3 separate regions of the Homo sapiens genome follow, and regions 2 and 3 are each linked to region 1. Evidence: promoter capture Hi-C in 16 types of primary human blood cells and fetal thymus (Javierre and others, 2016). All regions are on one chromosome and are shown on one strand. The core of a region is centred on a gene start or on the middle of the fragment in contact, and the rest is flanking DNA. Distances in the headings are between cores, read along the strand shown. Region 1 holds the start of CLDN23 (claudin 23). Region 2 overlaps TNKS (tankyrase). Region 3 has its middle 76 kb from the start of MIR124-1HG.

The links. Contacts are between HindIII fragments. The CHiCAGO score rates a contact against its expected background, and 5 or more counts as called.
Region 2: a fragment that was not itself captured here is called in contact with the fragment with the promoter of CLDN23 in region 1 in 1 of 17 cell types (total B cells); the score reaches 6.2 in total B cells.
Region 3: a fragment that was not itself captured here is called in contact with the fragment with the promoter of CLDN23 in region 1 in 3 of 17 cell types (neutrophils, total CD8 T cells and fetal thymus); the score reaches 6.7 in neutrophils.

What each region holds. Positions count from the first base shown.
Region 1 is chr8:8,700,241-8,703,635 of GRCh38, forward strand. CLDN23 (claudin 23) reads left to right here and starts at 1,697. Exons shown (of 1, transcript NM_194284.3): 1 at 1,697-3,395. The coding sequence starts at 2,159. The coding sequence ends at 3,037. RefSeq lists a silencer at 1,430-2,049 and an enhancer at 1,523-2,490. The HindIII fragment of the contact is 12,864 bases long and covers 1-3,395 here.
Region 2 is chr8:9,769,995-9,773,448 of GRCh38, forward strand. It overlaps TNKS (tankyrase), which reads left to right. Exons shown (of 27, transcript NM_003747.3): 26 at 112-268. Among named protein-coding and RNA genes, the nearest start is that of MIR597, 30 kb to the left of the region's middle. The HindIII fragment of the contact is 3,049 bases long and covers 74-3,122 here.
Region 3 is chr8:9,825,782-9,829,123 of GRCh38, forward strand. No RefSeq gene overlaps it. Among named protein-coding and RNA genes, the nearest start is that of MIR124-1HG, 76 kb to the right of the region's middle. The HindIII fragment of the contact is 318 bases long and covers 1,881-2,198 here.

The DNA of each region.
Region 1 (3,395 bases), core at 447-2,946:
AAAATGTGGTATTTATGCACAATAGAATATCATTCAACCTTCAAAAGGAAGGACATTCTGACACATGCTACAATATGGATGAACCTGGAGGACATTAAGCTCAGTGAAATAAGCCAGTCACGAAAGGACAAATACGGTCCGATTCCAGTTCTATGAGGTACCTAAAGTAGTTAAATTTATAGAGAGAAAAAAGTAGAATGGTGATCACCAGGGCCTGTGAGGGAGGGAGGAAAGGAGAGTTAGTGTTTAGTGGGTACAGTGTCAGTTTGGGAAGAGGAAAAAATCCCAGGAGTGGATGGTGGTGAGGGTATCACAACAATGTGAATGTATGTCATACCAATGAGCTGTACACTTAAAGATGGTTACAACGGTCAACTGTATGTTACATATATGTTACCACAGGTTTTTTTTTTAATTTAAAAATATTCTTTTAAAAAAAGCAGTCACTGTCATTCCTAGTGTTGTCCACTCTGGAATATTCAAAATTATTTCAAACCAATGCTAAATTAACTTGAATTTTAAAAATAGTTTTAATTTTAAACAATTATAAAGGCAATACGTTTTCATTGTAAAAATCTAGAAAATACAAAAAAGTGTTATTAAAGGATAATTTTTAGAAAAAATGTAAACATCGTGACTTTCACACAAATATAAAATGAATATGTGTGAAAGAGGTTATTTAACTCATTATTGAATAAGGAAACCAGTATGATGTTAAAACCAAAGAAGCTGGCCACTTGCCTGCAGTCCTAGCTACTCCAGAGGCTGAGGCGGGAGACTCACCTGAGCCCAGGAGTTTGCAACCAGCCTGGGCAACACAGCGAAACTCCCCAACCCTGTTTAAAATAAATAAATAAATAAATAAATAAATAAATAAATAAAAGAAAAAGGAAAAAAAAAAAGCAAAGAACAAAAGGACACACATATACAGACAAACAGGAATGCTAAAATGAATTTACAAATCAATGCCATACTGGTCAGTATCCATTGGACAATAATCATTCCACTGGGACGAACTCATTAGCCTTGATGTTGGCAAAAGTCATTTGCAATACTACAGGCTTTCTATAATTTATAGAGTTGTAAAATAACCTACAGACGAGAAAGGCCACAGTACACTGTAAAATTAAATAAACCTGCAAAAAACGCTAAGCAGGACATCCGGGAACACTGGTCCCTCTTTCTAGTCCCCTTGAAAGTCTCACAAGGCTGAAAAAGGAAAGTAAAATCCTTGTGTAACCCTTCTGCCCAGAAGTACACTGGCACAGATTCTTTAGAGACGAATTTAATCCAGAGTGTGGAGCCTTTATTAAGGAAATAATCCGGTGCAACGTTCTGGGACACGCTCCTGGACTGGGTGGGCTTCTGCACACTCACCCAGCGCACCTCCAATCCCCGGGAGCGCTCGGCACCGCCCACTTCTCTGCGAGTGGCTGCAAGTTGCAGAGCAAACCAGGGGGCGATCTGGAACCCTCTGGGAGTAAAGGGCTAAGCTATAAGCGCAGGGTCGACGGGCAGGGACCGGAAACAAATTCTAGGAACCGAGATCCGCTGAGCAGCAGGGAAGCTGCGCAGCCACCGCGTCCCGCCAGCGCCGCCTCTTTCCCTCCCCGCCCACCGCCCGCCTGGCCCGGCGGGGCGGCGCGAGGACCCAGGGGCGGGGCGACCTTTGCTCCGGCCGTGAGCAGTCCAGGCCAGGCGTGGCCCAGCCGCCCGGCTGCAAGGTGGGGTGTCCCCGCCGCTCGGATCCCCATCTCACCTGCCGCGGGCGAGGTGGCCCCGCCGCTTCCTGCGCTCACCTCGGGTCCCTCCCTCCCGGGCCAGGTTTGGCCGCGGCAGCCGCCCCTGGGCGCCCGCGCCCGGACCCGCGGTTTCGGTCAGACCCGCCCGCGGGCTGGTTTCGATTAGGGCCAGTAGGAGGGCGGAGCGGCCGGGACGCCAGGAGGGAACTAGCCTAAGTGGGGACGGTCCCCGTGCAGGAGACAAAGAGCGTCCCTGGAGCGATCAGGGCTCAGGAGCCCGACCCGGAGCCCGGGGCGTCCGCGCTGACTTCGGGTCCCCGGAGCCTGGGGCACGGCAGGGAGAAGACGACGGCGGAGAAGGCGACAGCGGAGAAGGAAGGCAGGCTGCAGGGGCGCCGTCGGCGCGGCGGGCCGGGATGCGGACGCCGGTGGTGATGACGCTGGGCATGGTGTTGGCGCCCTGCGGGCTCCTGCTCAACCTGACCGGCACCCTGGCGCCCGGCTGGCGGCTGGTGAAGGGCTTCCTGAACCAGCCAGTGGACGTGGAGTTGTACCAGGGCCTGTGGGACATGTGTCGCGAGCAGAGCAGCCGCGAGCGCGAGTGCGGCCAGACGGACCAGTGGGGCTACTTCGAGGCCCAGCCCGTGCTGGTGGCGCGGGCACTCATGGTCACCTCGCTGGCCGCCACGGTCCTGGGGCTTCTGCTGGCGTCGCTGGGCGTGCGCTGCTGGCAGGACGAGCCCAACTTCGTGCTGGCAGGGCTCTCGGGCGTCGTGCTCTTCGTCGCTGGCCTCCTCGGCCTCATCCCGGTGTCCTGGTACAACCACTTCTTGGGGGACCGCGACGTGCTGCCCGCCCCGGCCAGCCCGGTCACGGTGCAGGTCAGCTACAGCCTGGTCCTGGGCTACCTGGGCAGCTGCCTCCTGCTGCTGGGCGGCTTCTCGCTGGCGCTCAGCTTCGCGCCCTGGTGCGACGAGCGTTGTCGCCGCCGCCGCAAGGGACCCTCCGCCGGGCCTCGCCGCAGCAGCGTCAGCACCATCCAAGTGGAGTGGCCCGAGCCCGACCTGGCGCCCGCCATCAAGTACTACAGCGACGGCCAGCACCGACCGCCGCCTGCCCAGCACCGCAAGCCCAAGCCCAAGCCCAAGGTCGGCTTCCCCATGCCGCGGCCGCGGCCCAAGGCCTACACCAACTCGGTGGACGTCCTCGACGGGGAGGGGTGGGAGTCCCAGGACGCTCCCTCGTGCAGCACCCACCCCTGCGACAGCTCGCTGCCCTGCGACTCCGACCTCTAGACGCTTGTAGAGCCTGGGGGGCGCCGGGTGGCAAAGGACTCACCCCCGCACAGGCCCGCCTGGCTTCGAGTTGGAACCCGGACACTTGCCCCTCACTGGTGTGGATGGAAATCTGCCTTTCGTGGGACCAAACAGGACTCCTTGGACGATTAGTTCAGGTTGGGTTTGGTTTTCTTCTTAAAGAGTTTAGTTTTCCTCTCCAGAGGGATCAGGGTCCTCTTAGGGAGTGACGGGCTTTTCATATATTTTTGCTGAAGAATATATGGAAAGGGTGGCATTTGCGTCACGTGGACCAGGGACAGTGCTGAAATCAGCAGTGCTCAGAAACAATTTAACATGTTGAAACGACAATATTCTA
Region 2 (3,454 bases), core at 348-2,847, 1.1 Mb after region 1:
TTAAATTAGCTTGCCTTATGTTAAATTTTTAAAAAATTAATAGATCTAGCAGTTATATTATTGTAAGATTTAAAGCTTCCTTCAAAGCATTGTTTTTTTCTTTTTCCTTAGACAAATGCTCTTCTGTAGAGTGACCCTTGGGAAATCCTTTCTGCAGTTTAGCACCATGAAAATGGCCCACGCGCCTCCAGGGCACCACTCAGTCATTGGTAGACCGAGCGTCAATGGGCTGGCATATGCTGAATATGTCATCTACAGAGGAGAACAGGTATGTTACTCATCAAACAAGCATAACCAAGTTCACAAACATGTCAATAGAGCACAGAGACCGTGTAAGACTTGAGACACTTTTCAGTGAAATATCCACCACACAGTGTGCTAGTATTAATTACTTCAGATACAAAATAAAGGTATCAAAATAATTCTTTGACATCAACTTTTTACCTAAAACCCATTAGTAGCTGTCAGCCACATAACACAGTGTGAACAAGAGGGCAGCTGAGAAACAAAGGCTTGGGCCCTCATGCCGTTTTGAGGCCTGCAGCTCTGAACTAATGCCTTGTGCCACTTCGTGGGCAGCATGCCAGGGCAGCTGCTGTTAGTGGGTCTTCATGGATGTACATGCCACAGGATTTGTCCAAAAACAAAAACAATTTGTCTGAATGTAAGTGAACTTCAAATGAATACCATAACTACAATAAAAGAGAAAAATAAAGAAGGAAATAACTAAATATATATAACCTATGAAAACAGTATTTTATACTGTGCCTTCAGTCATGGGCAGGGTAGGGAATGCTGTTGGGGGAAGACTGACAAAGGAATCCTGAACTCCTTTTAGTAAATGTGTTGATGGAGATACCGTGGGCAAAACAGTGAAACTCTTAAGCATATTATAGGATTGAGCACATGAGCGGATGTGTTGATGTATTGATTTGAGGAGCCAAAATTCTCATGGTAGAAGAAGGGACATACAAATATGGAATGGAGAAGGTAAGAAAGACTCTAAGGGTGGACTGAAATTGGAAGTATTACTATGATCTCATGGTTTCTAACGTGTGTGTACACCCATGTAAATTTATGGGTAAGTAGTAATATAAGCATGTGTGTGTATATGAGAGAAAGAGAAACCAAGGAAGGGAGGGAAGGAGAGAGAGAGAGACAGACAGGAAGGAAAGGAGGGAGAGAAGAGAGGAAGGAAGGAAGTGAGGGAGGAAGAGAGAGAGGAAGGGAGGGAGAGAGCGAGGAAAGGAGGGAGGGAGGAAGGAAGTGAGGGAGGAAGAGAGAGCGAGGAAGGGAGGGAGGAGAGAGGAAGGAAGGAAGAGAGAAGAAAGGAGGGAGAGAGAGGAAGGGAAGCAGGGAGGGAGAGAGAGAGGAAGGGAGGGAGGGAAAGAGAGAAAGGGAGGGAAAGAAAGGGAGACAGATACTAAGGAAGGGAGGGACAGAGGAAAGGAAAAGAGAGAGAAGAAGGGAGGGAGAGAAGAAGGAAGGGGGAAAGAGATAAAGGGAAGGAAAGAACGGGAGAGAGAGGAAGGGAGGGAGAAAGACTGAGAGAGGAAGCAAGGGAGAAAGCGAGAGAGGAAGGAAGAGAGAAAGGGAGAGGAAAGAAAGAAGGGAGGAAGAGAGGAAGGAAAGAGGGAGGGAAAGAGAGAGAGGGATGAATGGAGGGGAGAGGCAGGAAGGGAGGGAGAGAGAGAGAGAGAGAGAGGAAGGGAGAAAGCGAGAGAGGAAGGAACAGGGAGTGAGAAAGGAAGGATTGGAGGAAGGAGAGAGAAAAAAAGGAAGGCAGGAGAGAGAGGAGAAGGGAAGTGGGGGAGGAAGGGAGAAGGGGGAATGAAGCGGGGAGAGAGGGGAGGGAGGGAGAGAGAGCTAGAGAGCGGAACGGAGGGAGAAAGTGAGGGAGAGCAGAAGGAAGGGATGGGGAGAGAGGGAGGAAGAGGGAGGGAGGGGGAGAGGGAGGGAGTGGGAGGGAGTGAGAGGGAGAAAGAGGTGGGAGGGAAGAAGGGATAGGCAGAGGGATGGGGGAGGGAGAAAGGGAGGGAGTGAGAGGAGACAGAGGTAGGGAGGGATGGAGGGGGAGAGAGGGAGAGAGAAGGAGGGAGGGAGAAACAGGGAAGGACGGGTGGAGGGAGGGATGACATGGGACTCATCATGTACCCATTATTAGACCAGGCAAGAATTATTAATGGATGCTAAATATGGGGATTGTTTCACTAAGGAGAAGAATATTTGCGTGGTTTTCTTATTACAGACTTACTTTCAAAGGGGGCTGGGGGGAGGAGTAATTATATATTGGAGAAAGGGGACAATGCCTTGACCAGATAATCAAAATCAACATCACCAATGAGGGACAGATAGGCTTATATTATCTCTCTAGGTGGATACTCTAAAGGCACGACATCTCTGCAGCATTCCAGCCAAAAATACATGATGTAAGTCTAATCAAAATGAGGAATGTTTTACTTTTTTTAATGTTGAAAGATTGTATTCTTCAAAAATGTTAATATTATAAAAGAAAGGCTGTGCTAACTTTCCAGATTACATGAGGCCCAAGAGACATGAAAACGAAGTTAACCTTCTGCCCCCAACTGCATCCAGTATTGGAAGAGAAAGTACATTATTAGATCAACTGACAGAATTGGAATATGGACATTAAATAAAAGGATTGTATCAATGTAAAATTATAAGGTTGATTCTGTACTTACGTAAGGCAATATGTCTATGCTTAGAAAATATATACTGGCATATTTAGGGATAAAGGACCATGATGATGTATATAACTTGTAAACGTTTTGGGGAGAATGTGTGTGTGTGTGTTTGTGTGTGTGTGTGTGTGTGTCTGTGTGTGTGTGTGTGTGTGTGTGTGTGTAGTGCGTATGTGTGGGTGTGGGTGTATCTAGTATACAGGGATAGGGAAGGGGCAAATGATAAAGCAAATGAGATAAATAAAACCTTCCCAAACGTAGATCTGGGTGAGGTTATGTAGCTGTTTTTGGTACCATTTTAATTTTTGCAACTTACTTGTAAGTTGGTAGCTGTTTCCAAATAAAAAGTTTACAAAAAGGAAGGAATAAATTTGTCATATTTTTCTGTTTAAATCATAAACCTTTAACTTCTAGAAAAGAAGCTTTTTTTTAACTTTTATTCAGTAATTATACTTCTTCTAGAAATTTGTATTGGAATAATCAGTGATAGTCACAAACACACACTATATACATGAATATATGAATAGTCATCACTGTCTTATCACAATAAAAAATTTAAACAACCTAAATATTAAGCAAAAGCAGAATTGTTAAATAAACATATTCATATGTCTGATATTTTTTAACATTTACATAATATATACCAAACATAGATTCACCCACAGCATAAGAATATGGTTATCACTGGGTGATAATGAGTGGTTTCAGTTCTCTTTACCATGTATTTTAAATATACTGTAAGTTATCTCTGA
Region 3 (3,342 bases), core at 790-3,289, 1.1 Mb after region 1:
AGCATGTGGTAGGCACTGATCCAGGCCCTTTGAGAGCTAGGCGGGAGAGAACACTTAACCCCCCCAATTAAGGGGGCATGATGTGGTTAATTCTTTCCTCAAATCTACTTACTCATATCCCAGCAGTTTTATAGGGCTGTGTACTTCCGAAAATTCCCAATATAGATGCTCCCAGCTTACAATGGGGTTACACTGCCTGCTAACCCATCGTAAAGTCAAAAAATTGTTAAGTGGGCCAGGCATAGTGGCTTATGCCTGCTGTCCCAGCACTTTGGGAGGCTGAGGCAGGCAGATCACTTGAGGCCAGGAGTTCAAGACCAGCCTGGCCAACATGGTGAAACCCCTTCTTTATTGAAAATACAATAATTAGCTGGGTGTGGTGGCGGGCGCCTGAAATCCTAGCTACTCCCGAGACGGAGGCAGGAGAATCACTTGAACCCGGGAAACGGAGGTTGCAGTGAGACAAGATTGTGCCACTGCACTCCAGCTCAGGTGACACAATAAGACCCTGTCTCAAAATAATAACAATAATAATAATAAATTGTTAAGCGGCGCCATCACAAGTATGGTACTGTCTAAATTTGTTTCCCTCCCACATTCCTGCCTGTACTTCCTTAGACTTTGCCAGTGGTTCTCAGTGTGGGCTGAAATTGGAAACCCCTGGGGTACTGTAAAAAGCACCAATGCCAGAGTCCCATGTCCAGAAATTCACATGTAATTGGATGGGGTGGCCGGGGTATGAGGCAGTTTCAGATCCCTCTGGGTGACTGTCAGGTACAGCCTGAGCGGAGAACCACTGGTTCAGGCCACGGTTCCTTCACTGGGTGATGAGCGAGGCCTCCTGCCTCCAGGCGTCACGGCCTTCCTGCCGTCCCCAGGACTGGATGCCACTGATCTGTGGAGGGGTCGGCCAACCCTGCAATAGGGATCAGCTCCGACCCACGGACGGAGTTCCGCCCTCCGCATGCTTTTGTAAATAAAGTGTCATTCGCCCCTAGCCGACGCTGATTCATTTGGGACTGCGGGGTCTGCAAAGCCTAAAATACTGATGAGCTCGTCCTTTTCAGAACATGTTTGCCAGCCCCTGCATGCTGCAGCCCAAGACCAAAAGTCCTGCAAGTCTCTGGAGTTCGCTTCCTGCTGCAGGTCCTGCCTCACGGGTATTGGATCAGTTACCTGCTCTAGGGACACTCCCTGTTGTTTGGGGCAGAATGGGGTGCACCTCCTCTTGCCCTCACAGTGCCTGGGTCCCCTTAACTCACTGTTCTCCTTGTTTGTGACTGGCCTGCCTCTCTTGCAGAATGGGGAGAGCCCGCAGGGTGGAGGGAGCAGGGCTTCATCTATGAATCTCATAGCTAGCCAGGGTCTGGCATACAGTAGGCGCTCAAGGTATGTGCTGTCTCAGTGGTTTAGTTGAATGATCTTCACTAAAGCCTTATCAAAGCATATGCTGGCCCGGGAGCTGTGGCTCACGCCTGTAATCCCAGCACTTGGGGAGGCTGAGGCAGGTAGATCACCTGAGCCCAGGAGTTCAAGACCAGCCTGGGCAACCTAGTGAGAACCCATCTCTACAAAAAAGAAAAAGAAAAAGAAAAAAAAAAAGCACTACATGCGGTGGTGCTTGCCTATAGTCCCAGCTACTGGGGTGGCTGAGGTAGGAGGACAGCTTGAGACCTGGGGTTGAGGTGGTGGGTTGAGGCTGCAGTGACCCGTGATTGTTCCACTCTACTCTATCCTGGGCAACAGAGCAAGACCTTGTCTCAACAAAAGAAAGAAAGAAAAAAAAAAAAGCCTAGGCTGACTGTTCATAGGATGAGTAGAGGAGTCTTGGTTTGTGCAGAGAAAACTAGAGAGATTAAAAAAATATTTGGCTGATTTAAAGCTTTCTCTGACTTCACTTTTGCTAAGAATTTGATGACTGTCATTCATCGAATCGCAATAACAGCAAACAATACAGGTTTTTTTTTTTGCAAACAATAACAAAAATAGTTTTCATAATGTGCCAAGTATGATATAAAGTGCTTTACATGTATATCATTCACATAATTCTCACAACAACCCTATGATGGGAGCTATTATTCCTGATGTACAGATGAGGAAACTGAGGCACAGAGTGGGTAAGCGAGTTGCCCAGGTTATATACAGCTAGTAAGTGACAGAGCTGAGACTCAAATCAGGCAGCCTGGGGCCAGAGTCCAAGCTTTTTTTTTTTTTTTCTCTCTTTTTGTGGCAGGATCTCGCTGTCTTGCCCAGGCTGGACGGCAGTGGTGCAATCACAGCTCACTGTAGCCTCCACCTCCCAGGCTCAACTGGCCCTCCTGCTTTAGCCTCCTGAATGGCTGGGACTACAGGCATGCAGCACCATGGCCCGGCTACGTTTTTTTTGTTTTTTTTTTTTTTGAGACTGTCTTGCTCTGTCATCCCGGCTAGAGTGCAGTGGCACCATCTCGGCTCACTGCAACCTCCACCTCCCAGGTTCAAGCAATTTTCCCTGCCTCAGCCTCCTGAGTAGCTGGGATTACAGGCACCCGCCACCATGCCTGGCTAATTTTTGTTTTGTTTTTTTTTTAATAGAGATGGGGTTTTGCCATATTGGCCAGGTTGGCCTTGAAGTCATGACCTCAGGTGATCCACCCACCTGGGCCTCCCAAAGCGCAGGGATTACAGGCGTGAGCCACCGTGCCTGGCCAGGTTTTCTAGTTTTCGTACAGATGAGGTCTCACTACCTTGTCCTGGTGGATTTTTACCTCCTAGCCTCAAGTGATCCTCCTGCCTCCGCCTCCCAAAGTGTTGTGATTACAGAAGTGAGTCACCACACCTGGCCCAGAGTCAGAGCTTTTAACCACTATGTTACACTGCTTGAGAGTCACAGTAAGTAATAATAACCCCACCCACAACCATGCAATTGTGAAGCCACCTCACAGGGTCTCAGCAAGAGCCACCCTTCCAGTACAGCAGTCATCGGCCCCACCCGCTCTGCTGAAGCCTGCAGGGGAGGCTGCACGGGCAAGGCAGATGACGCATCCTCTCAGAGAAGAGGAGTTCAAATCCCAGAGCCGCCTCTTCCTAGCTATGTACCCTCAGACAAGATCATTAATTTGTTTTCCTCATCCTTAACAATGGGGCTCACAGCCTCTTCCCTGGGCTGTTGTGAGGGTGACATAAAGCATGTCCCAGAGCAGATACAAAAGAGGCCAGGTGTGCACAGGGTGGTGGGTCGGGCCATTCAGCCCAATTGGGGCCATTCATTTAATGGGATCCGGATACACCTTCGTCTACGGATCTAGCCAATTGCTGCTGCCTATTTAGGTTTTGCCTGAATCTTGATCAAGAATATCTGAT